Linked DNA regions of Homo sapiens: region 2 is linked to region 1. The links are contacts of gene promoters, found by promoter capture Hi-C in blood cells and fetal thymus (Javierre and others, 2016). All regions are on one chromosome and are shown on one strand. The core of a region is centred on a gene start or on the middle of the fragment in contact, and the rest is flanking DNA. Distances in the headings are between cores, read along the strand shown.

Region 1 (4,669 bases), core at 557-3,056:
AGACCAAGTCAAATCTTGCCTCTTTCAAAGAGTTCCCTAACTCAGCCTACACATCCTATCTTTTCTGATTTTCTACCACATTTATAGTCCTCAAACAGCACTGGTTACCTGCTACTTAACTTGGTTTTATAATTATTTTATACATCTCCTAGCTAGACTACTGCTCTCAAAGGGAAAAAAAAGACAGGTCTTCTATGTCATTTTTCACTCCATAATCCTCCTCCCACACCTATCATGATACTGGGCAGAGGGAGGCACATGTATTAAGTACTTGATGGACTGAACTCAATGCTTTCTATACATAGATACACCACTTGAGCATAGTGTGCTATATAACAAATATCCATTGCATGCCTACTCTGTGGCAAGCACATTTTTCCTATGTGTTAGACATAGGGCAAGGAGGAAAACACAGATGACTCCTGTCCTAAAAGCTATTACAGTGGAGGGAGGAAGACACTTTGAATTCCGAGTAATCTAATAAGTGTTACAAAGCAAGGTTATTACTGGTTCCAAGAGGTAACATACTTTACAGATTCTCAGTTATGAAACAGAATCATAGAATTTTAGACCTAAATGAGAACCTTGAACTTATTTTCCTCTATCCTCTTACACAAAACATTAGATTTCAGTACAGCCTATCTTTTCACTGGTTCTACAAATTGCCTTAATCAACAGAAAGAAAAGACTGGCTTCTTCCCTGTCTCCAATATTCCTCGCTCCCAAGTATGGTAACCACAACCCCTATACATCTACCCATGATAGAGTCCAGAGCACTGAGAAGACAGCACAGGGCTGAGGATGAGCTACACCTTTACATGCTGGGTTCTCCCATCATCAACACTTTCCGCCCACACAGTGAACAGAATCCGTATTTTCTGCCCAGAAAATAGCAGCCTGTACTGCCTTTAGGAAAAACAAACAAAACATGCTTCCATACTTCCTTGGATCTACTAATGACAAAAGCACAACACGGTTCTGGGAAATATAGCAAGATAACTAAGTCTATGAGGAAGTAAGAAATGAGGATGCCTATCAGCACCTTGGTCTCAAAATCTGTAACAACAATGTACTAAAACGCCAAGGAAACACATGCACATACATGTGAAGTTAGAAACTCTAGGCAACAGGTTGGCTGCCCCGGATCTATACTGACAGGTCGCCCTCCCAAGGTCGTGGGTGTGTCTGATGCCGCACGCAGGCACTGATTCACAACTCTCTCCATAACAACCAGCTCCTACTCAGAGGCTGGCCAGGGCAGGGGAGATGAGGGCCCCAGCAGTCCCAAACTTTCCAAACCCCCACCCCGGGGTCCCGGGTTTCGCCTCCTCAGTCCCAGGCAACGTCGTCTCAGACAGGATACGAGACTGCTAGGGAACCTGGGCTGCCCCTGATTCGAACTCCTCTCTTTGGGAGGCTGGTAGAGCCACCCCGAATCCCCGAAACGTCTACTTCCCACTACACCTTCGTGGACTGCGAACGGGACGGCTACCGCTCTCCCAGAGCACCCGGGCCCAAGAAATGACCCTCGTCAGGCCCCGTCCCAGCTCCTCCCCCGCCCCCGGAAAAAGCGGCGGAGGGGCGGGGGGCGGTGCGCGCGGATACGGCGGGGGCGCGCGTCCCCGCGCCGCAGGTGCGGCCAGGCCCCACCTCCCCTGCAAGGACCCGGCTACTCACCCCAGCGATGCTCCTCTGAGACCAAGCTGCGACACAGACGCCTCTTCCGCCCGCTCCGCACCCCTCTCTGCGCCACCGCCCCCTTGGCCGCTTCCGTGGCCGCCGTCCTCGCCGCCGCCCCGGCTGCTGCGGCGCGCGTCCGCTTTCACGCACTCCGCCGTGGCCGCGCACGCGCCACTGCGCGCTGGCGTCACTTAGCAACCGATCGACAGCGGGCTGCTGGGTCCGGCGATGCAGGCCCAGAAAGTCGCCTAAGGCAGCTTCCGCGGCTTTTTCGCATCGGCCCGACCCTCTGCCCCTCCAGAACAGGGGGCCCCAGGGTGTGGCTGCCCTGCCGGCACCTGGCTCCGGGTAAGTCGAGTCACCACACGTCACTGTATGGCGTCACCGGCGCACGTCACTACGGATGAGAAGGTCCTGGGCGCCTGTGGAGTGACCTCGTCCAGACCGCCGCAGACCCGATCGGCAAGTTCTTGGAGGTGCAGGAAGGTTCTCCAAGGAGTAGGACCAGAAAGGGATGAGAGCGCGAGCGCGGTTAATGTCGAGGCTGCTAAGTGATGCTCGTTAATTTCGCAGCAGGGTGTGACTGGCCCAGCCTTGACTCTCAGTTTCCTCTCTCAGTAAATGGGCATAATAATACCGGTCCAGCCTACGCTGGAGAATTGTGAGGTGAAAATGAAATAAGGTATGCAAAGGTACTTTGTAAGTATAAAGCCCATTTGACTTGGTGGCTCAAGCCTGTAATCCCAGCACTTTGGGAGGCCGAGGTGGGCGGATCGCTTGAGCTCAGGAGTTCGACACCAGCCTGGGTAACATAGTGAAACCCCGTCTCTACAAAAAAGACAAAAACTAAATGGGCATGTTGGCGCGCGCCTGTAGTCACAAATGCTCGGGGGGCTGAGGTGGGAGGATCGCTTGAACCTGGGGAGTTCAAGATTGCAGTGAACCGTGATCGCGCCGCTGCACTCCAGCCTCTGCAGTGAGAGCAAGACACTGTCTCAAAAAAATGTATTTATCTATCTACATAGATAAGAGTCCTAGAAATCCGGGTGCAGGTCTGACTGTAGCTGGTGTAGGAAAGTCAGTTATCCCCGACGCTGGAGCAAGCTAGGGGACCGCCCTTGCAGTTGTTGGAGGAGACAAATTGGGAAGGACTTAATTCCGGGCAAAGGAAGCTTCATGAGTAAAAGTAGAAAGTGAAAATGGTCAGGAAAAGCAAGGCTTGGGGCAGGGAGACCCATTTTTAGGCCATTGCAGTACTCCAGACAAGTGATAAGAACATTAAACAAGGCATTGGCAGTGGGAATAGAGGAGGGGATAGATGTTAGCGCCATTAAGGTGGTAGAATTCACAGCACTGAGTGCGGATAAATGAGTAGGCCAGGTTTCTAGCATGAGTGCTGAGGTAGACAGTGGTAACATTTAGCAAGATGGCAAGCTACATGAGTCTTGATTATCCACAAGTGTCTAAGTTACTATTATAGATAGTGATGGTGACATTTCTTAGGAGGATGACCAGATATGTGGAGTATGATGATGAGTTCAAATATGGATATGTTTGTTAGGGAAACATTTACTCTCCATTCACAATGTCTTTCTTCCATATGGAATGATATCCATTAGTGTAATACTCTCCTGGTTTCTCTTATACCTGTCTGCAACTCACTCTTGCCTAGAGGAGTGACTTCCTGATTGGTGAACTTAAATGGGAGAAACTGGACATGTGGCATCTATCCCATTCTTTTTCTCTTAAAAGATAACTATCTTCAGGGAACTGTCCTGGTGTTCTTTTCCGTTTCTTCTGGAGCAGGGCCTGTGGGTAGGGACAAGGGTGCCTAGTCCAGGGCTACAAAGAGAGTATATGTATTTAATTCCAGAGTTTGGCATTAGGAAGCTGTCTGTCCACAGATAATATTTAATACCAGCTTTGTCAGCTGTGTTACACAGAATAATGATCCCCCCCAACCAAAAAAAAAAGGATGACCACACCCTAATACTCAGAACCCATGAATATGTTATATTATGTGGCAAAAGGGACTTTGCAGATATGATTAAATGATGTATCTAGGGAGATTATCCTGGATTGTCTGACTGGGCTGGAGGCAGGAGGGTCAGAGTCAGAGAAGGAGATGTGATGATGGAAGCAGAGGTCAGACAGAGATTTGAAGATGCTATACTGTTGGCTTTGAAGATGGACCCAAGAAACGCAAGCAAATTGTAGATGCGGGAGAAGGCAAGGAAATGGATTCTTCTCTAGCACCCTAAGAACACAGCCCTGCCAACACCTTGATTTTAGGACTTCTGACTTCTAGAACTGCGAGATAAGAAACTTGTATGTTTTAAGGTACCAAGTTTGTGCTAACTTGTTACAACAGCAATAGGAAACTGATACAGTCAGTAATAAAGATAATAGTTGGTTTCCTGCAGCTTTCTCCATTACCTGGAAAAGAAGGGTACAATTCAGTAGGTCCCCTCAGAGACTATAGCAATATGACTGTGACCTGATGGAACCTCCACATCTAGAGAAAAATGTCCAATAAACACTCAAACTGTACAGGTCTATGAATGAGGAAAGAGGTTGAGTTAAAATAGATTTGGAAGAAATAAATTAATAATTGGTAATTTAAGCCCGAGGCATGGATGAGATCAATCAGGGAGAAAATACAGAAGACATAATAAGGAGAGGCAAGGATAGGGCCCCTGGAGAGCACTAACTTTAAAAGGAGGTGCAGATGATCAGAAGCCCAAAAAGAAGTCTGAGGAAGAATGGCCAGAGAGAGAAAAGGAGAACTAGGTGAGCCTAATGCCTCTGAAGCCAAGCAAGCAAGATGGAGAGGGGTCAACAGAGTCAGAGACCACAAAAAGGCCAAGTATATCAAGAACTGGAAAGCATTCACTGGATTTAGCAACAGAAAAGTGATTGGTAACCAACAATAGCAAACTTCAGTGGGATAGTGGAGATAGATACCAAATCACTGAGATCTGAAAGGCAG
Region 2 (4,944 bases), core at 1,541-4,040, 610 kb before region 1:
TTCTGACTCATCTCCTCAATACTTAATAAAGTTTCAGATTCATCTTCTATACTACTATTGTCATTAAGCCATTCTCCTGATCTTCAGCAGATCTATGTTTTATGCCTTAAACTTTTATCTGTGACCCCACTATGCTCAGCCATTTTCTTACTTTGCCCTTCGGGAAACAACAAACTCCCTTTAGCATGTTCAGTCCTGTCCTCAATTCATTATATACTTGCAAGCCTGTCTCAGTTATGGCATCTTTCTTTCGTGCTGGAGGAAAGTTCTCAGACTTTGGAGTCCAGTAGACTTGAGTACTTGTATCCTGACTCTATCACTTCCTAGCTTTGTGATTCTGAGCAAATTTCTTAACCTCTAGGAGCCTTAGCTTCTCCAATTGTAAATGAAGATATTAATAATTATAACCGCCTTAAAGTTTTGTTGGTTAATTGAGATAACACTTAATTGCCCAGTAGAGTACCCACGTAGCCATTTTAATACCTTTTAATGTATCTCCTTTGTTATGCATATGTAGACTCCAACTTACAGTTTCATATTCTGCCCCTCCCCCCCCGCCCCACGCTGTCCCAGGGTCTTGCTGTATCACCCAGGTCCTTGCAGTGGTGTCATCATAGCTCACTGCAGCCTCAATCTCCTGGACCCAAGTGATCTTCCCGCCTCAGCCTCCCAAGTAGCTGGGACTACAGGGGTATGGCACCATGCCCAGTTAATTTTTGGATTTTTAGTATAGATGAGGTCTGGGTCATGTTACCCAGGCTGGTCTCTAACTCCTGTGCTCAAGTGATCCTCCCTCCTCAACCTCCCAAAGTTCTGGAATTACAAGCGTGAGCCACCATGCCTGGCCTGTATGCTGCATTTTTTAATGTATTATGAGCATTTATCTATGTTACTATAAGAGTGCTAGTAATACTATTATAGATTACTGTAATATAATCAATATAATAGTTACAAGATTTATATTTTATAGCAAAGATAATATTTGAAAATGTTCTTAATGGTATAATCCTAGGCTAAAAGGACGTATTATAATTTAACTATTTTATCATTGAATATGTCAGTTGTTTGAAAGTTTCACCAATAGAAATAATTTTGTGGAGAACATTTTTGTCAAGTCTTTGAGACAGTTAAGTTGTATCAGAAATGTCATTTGAACTCTGCTCAGTGGTCATGGAGCTGTGATAGGAAGTGTCTTTAGTGTCAGAGCAGATTATAGGAAGACATGGACCTCATTACCCAAAAGAGAATAAAACTCTGAGCACCTACTTTACTTAAAATGTACTGAAGAACTCTTGGGAAAGGTAGAGGTCTAATTGTTTTCAAAGGGCATTTGATAAATATCTTCATCTCTTTATTAAAAGCTAACATTAAGAGCAGCTGGGAGGAGTTGATTATCTAATAACTGTGGAGGGGAATGGTGATCAAGCAAAGCACAAAAGAGTCCCTGAACTTTATTTAGCTGAAGTTGTGCCTGCACAGTAGATGCCATGTCTTATCTTACCATGAACGTAGAAAACTTCTTTGCTTATAATTAGCATTTCATTGATTTGAGTGGTGTGTTTGAAATTGAATTATTATTATTTATTCAAATCTAGGAACTAAAATGTAAAGATAAGTTTTGGTTTTGTGTGTATGAATGTACTATGCAGAGTCCATGTTGCTACTCTGTATAAGACCCAAGCCTTGATTGCCTCCCCGGAATGCTAATACAAAGGCTGTCATAGTTACTTTGTGGGCTAAAGCTGTATCCTTTAGGAAGGCAGTGAGAAACTTACTGAAAAAAAATGGAAGCCTGCTAGCTGAAAAATTTAAACACATTAACCAAAATGGCTGCAAGTAAACTCTTATCCAAGAGCTAAATTCCTGAGAGCTGTTTGAAATAATTTATTTAGACCTGTAAGAAGATCAGAAAGGGGTTGGATTTAGTTTACTCTCTCTAGAAACTAAACATCATATAATATAGACTCTCATCTATAATGAGAAGGGATGTTGTATTCAGGAATAGGCTGGAAAATATTAATCCAGCTTTTCCAATCTTCATTATTTTTTTAAAAAAGGAAATTTTGCCTTTCTCTGTGTAAATCAAGTTGAAATGTTTCTCTAGCTAGAGTTGATGTCATTGCACCAGCCACTTGTTTGACCTAGTTAATAGAACTTATATTTATTGCAACCTTCCCCTCGTCACCTCATTTTAAGACAGGGGTTCACAAGGAATGGCCTGCAGGCTGCTTTAACCAGGTAATTAGAACAGCATGTGTGTGACAGCTAGTAGTTTAAAGCAGTAATTCAGCTGTGTCTGAAAAGATTATTCACCTTTCCATTTACTCATTTCTCTATTTGTACTGAATTTTACATGCCAATCCACAGTTTTCTATGTCAGTGCCTATAATTGACTGTACTTGTTACATAATTAGCAACTGTGCCTTGAATTGAAACTCCTTCTATCTTTTGTTTTACTGATAGCCAAGAAGCAGGTAGATTTTCATGTTCTCTCTGAAAGCTTTCAGGGATAGCTCAGTCAGTCAGTCAATCACAGGGTATCTCTATGACAACTCTTGTGACATTTATTTAATGGCACTTGGCAAAATAATTAAAATTAATAGCTTATTTAAACAAGCAGAGTTAAAGCTTTGTTTAAAAGGGTACTTACTGTTTCAAAATAAATTTTATTTTACAAATGACTTAAAATTCTAGAATTTAAAAAGACTTCTAATGAAAAAATATTTTCTAGCTTGTGCATTGATTTTCTAACCTTTTGTCCATTTAGGGATCTGAAAAAAAGTGGTAGTACAATGTTGGGCTTCTTAAACAGTGATTTCCTCAGCTTTTTAAGAAAAGCCTATTATGTTTTACATTCAGTTTCATCTTTTGTGTGAACTTAAATGTGCCAGATTGCATCTACAGTGTTTTTATTTAGTGGGGCAAACTAGTCTCTTCCTTTTCTCTTTGTATGAAGCTTTTACCTTCTCCACCTCTACTCCAACCCATGCAAGAAATGGAGATGTTAAAATGCAAGAAAATAATGCAGAATAAGAAAGGATAAAGTCCATTGGGGTTGGCCTAATATACTGTTGCTAAACCTGCTTTACTGAAAAGCCGCCTGATATATTATACTGGGATGTATCACCCTTTGATAGTTATTTTATTAGGAAAAAAGTATTTGCATTTCCAGTTCAAGATATAAGGAGCATCTAAGAAAGAACTACTGCAAAGCCAGCAGAGGGAGCACATCATGTGTTTGCTGGCTTGTCTTGAAAAATATGCAGTATCTTTTGAAAGATTCTTGACCAATGTAACTAAAAATAAACAAGATCATTTTTTCCAGTGTGGCTTCAAAATTAATATTTTAAAAAGGGGAAGAAAAAAAGATTCTTTGTCAAAAGCTGATAATGGATCTTCTCCCCAAATAGGGACTTCTAGGCATTTTAAAAAGTTGATCTAGACAAAAGAGGAATTAAGTTGAGTCCTCAGCAGGAATTGTAGCTTGTTCATTGAATGGTATTTATTTTCCCATAGGCCTTTTTGATTAATACTTCAAATTTGACTTTTAATTTGATACATACAATTGTTCTCATACCACTTCCCAAAAAGGGTTTTATTTTTATTTTTATTTTTTCTAAGTATGGAAATAGCAGCACATAAGAAGGTTCCTATTACATGTATAGGATTGTTGATGGTTGTCTTGCTTCTAATTTGTGCTGTTAAATAGTCACAGTTTACTGGAAATTTAAGTTTTTACACTTCCTGGGCCTAGTGTAAAGTTGATTTCCTGTTGAGCTTTCGGGGTTCATAAATATAGGCCTGCTTTTCTTTCTTGGTGGCTTTTTTGATGCATGGGATTATGGAAGTTTTATACATGCATTAAAGTTCTTTTTCCTTGGTGAACTATAGCTGAAGTGTGTAACTCGAGAGCAGTAAGAAATACTTAAAAGTATTTTGCTTAAGAAAATATCTTCACATGTGACATCCCGAATCTTCTATTATGTTTCTTTACTTTGCAGTCTCATTTTCAAAATATATTATCATAGCCAAGGCATTTTTCTCTAAACTTCTTTTTAACAAAGGGTTCCCTCCTTATGCTGCTCTAATTTTGCTTATTCAGGACGTGTCTCACGGTTTCTAAGCAACCAAGATAATACATATATAATAATTGTGTATTTTAGCTTTGAAAGTCTTAAAAATAATCCTCAAAAAGGGAGAGAGGGTGATTTGTTTTCTTAGGTACCCATGTTCTGAGTTATCAATATTGTTTATATTTAGACACTGACGAAATAGTAAACTTAGGTTGCTTAATTAGCATATGGGAGATCCTCATTAATGTAATTCTCTTATTGTACTTAATACAAATTCCTGCCTTTTCTTTTTCTGTAATATGAACTGTTGTGTAAGCAGTATTGAGTCATTCAAGAACTCAGCAAACACCACTAATCTAGGAAAGGTGCAGATTCTATCTCATATCCATGTTTTAATTTTCTAGAAATTGTTTAGGGTGGGAATTTCTAGAATGCTGGTGTGTGGAGCTTGGTTGACCTTCTAGGTGAAAAGGCCATTTAGTTAAAATTATTTAAAGCAAAACATTTAAAGTCTCTGGAAATTGTCCTAAGGGCACACAGCAAATGGAGAAATACTTTCAATAAAGTCTACTAAATCTCAGTAAGAACTGGAGACCTTGTGGCATTTGAGCCACAACCAGCTTCCATCCATTACCTCTCCCAGCTCCATGTTATGGAAAGTCTCCTCCAGGAGAGTGCAGCCAAGAATTCAGGGTCCCCTCTCTCCCAGACTCTTGAGTCTGTTCTCCCTGGCTAAAGACAGGACAGAATAATATATTCCCTGAAATGTGATAGCAGTTTCCAAGCACCACATATTTTCATTAGTAAAGGGTGAAAATCTAACTGGCTAAGGAAGCTTAAGCACTACCTTTGACCAGTAAGAAGTTTATGT

Evidence for each region. The method cuts DNA at HindIII sites, captures the fragments that hold promoters and counts their contacts. A CHiCAGO score of 5 or more calls a contact.
Region 2: a fragment that was not itself captured here is called in contact with the fragment with the promoter of BTBD9 in region 1 in 2 of 17 cell types (naive B cells and M2 macrophages); the score reaches 5.4 in naive B cells.

What each region holds. Positions count from the first base shown.
Region 1 is chr6:38,638,123-38,642,791 of GRCh38, forward strand. BTBD9 (BTB domain containing 9) reads right to left here and starts at 1,807. Exons shown (of 11, transcript NM_001099272.2): 1 at 1,678-1,807. It overlaps LOC105375044 (a long non-coding RNA gene), which reads left to right and starts at 2,273. Exons shown (of 3, transcript XR_926767.4): 1 at 2,273-2,362. RefSeq lists a silencer at 1,470-1,669 and enhancers at 1,769-2,269, 2,070-2,149. The HindIII fragment of the contact is 9,229 bases long and covers 1-2,850 here.
Region 2 is chr6:38,031,286-38,036,229 of GRCh38, forward strand. All of the region lies in intron 2 of ZFAND3 (zinc finger AN1-type containing 3), which reads left to right. Among named protein-coding and RNA genes, the nearest start is that of ZFAND3, 210 kb to the left of the region's middle. The HindIII fragment of the contact is 328 bases long and covers 2,627-2,954 here.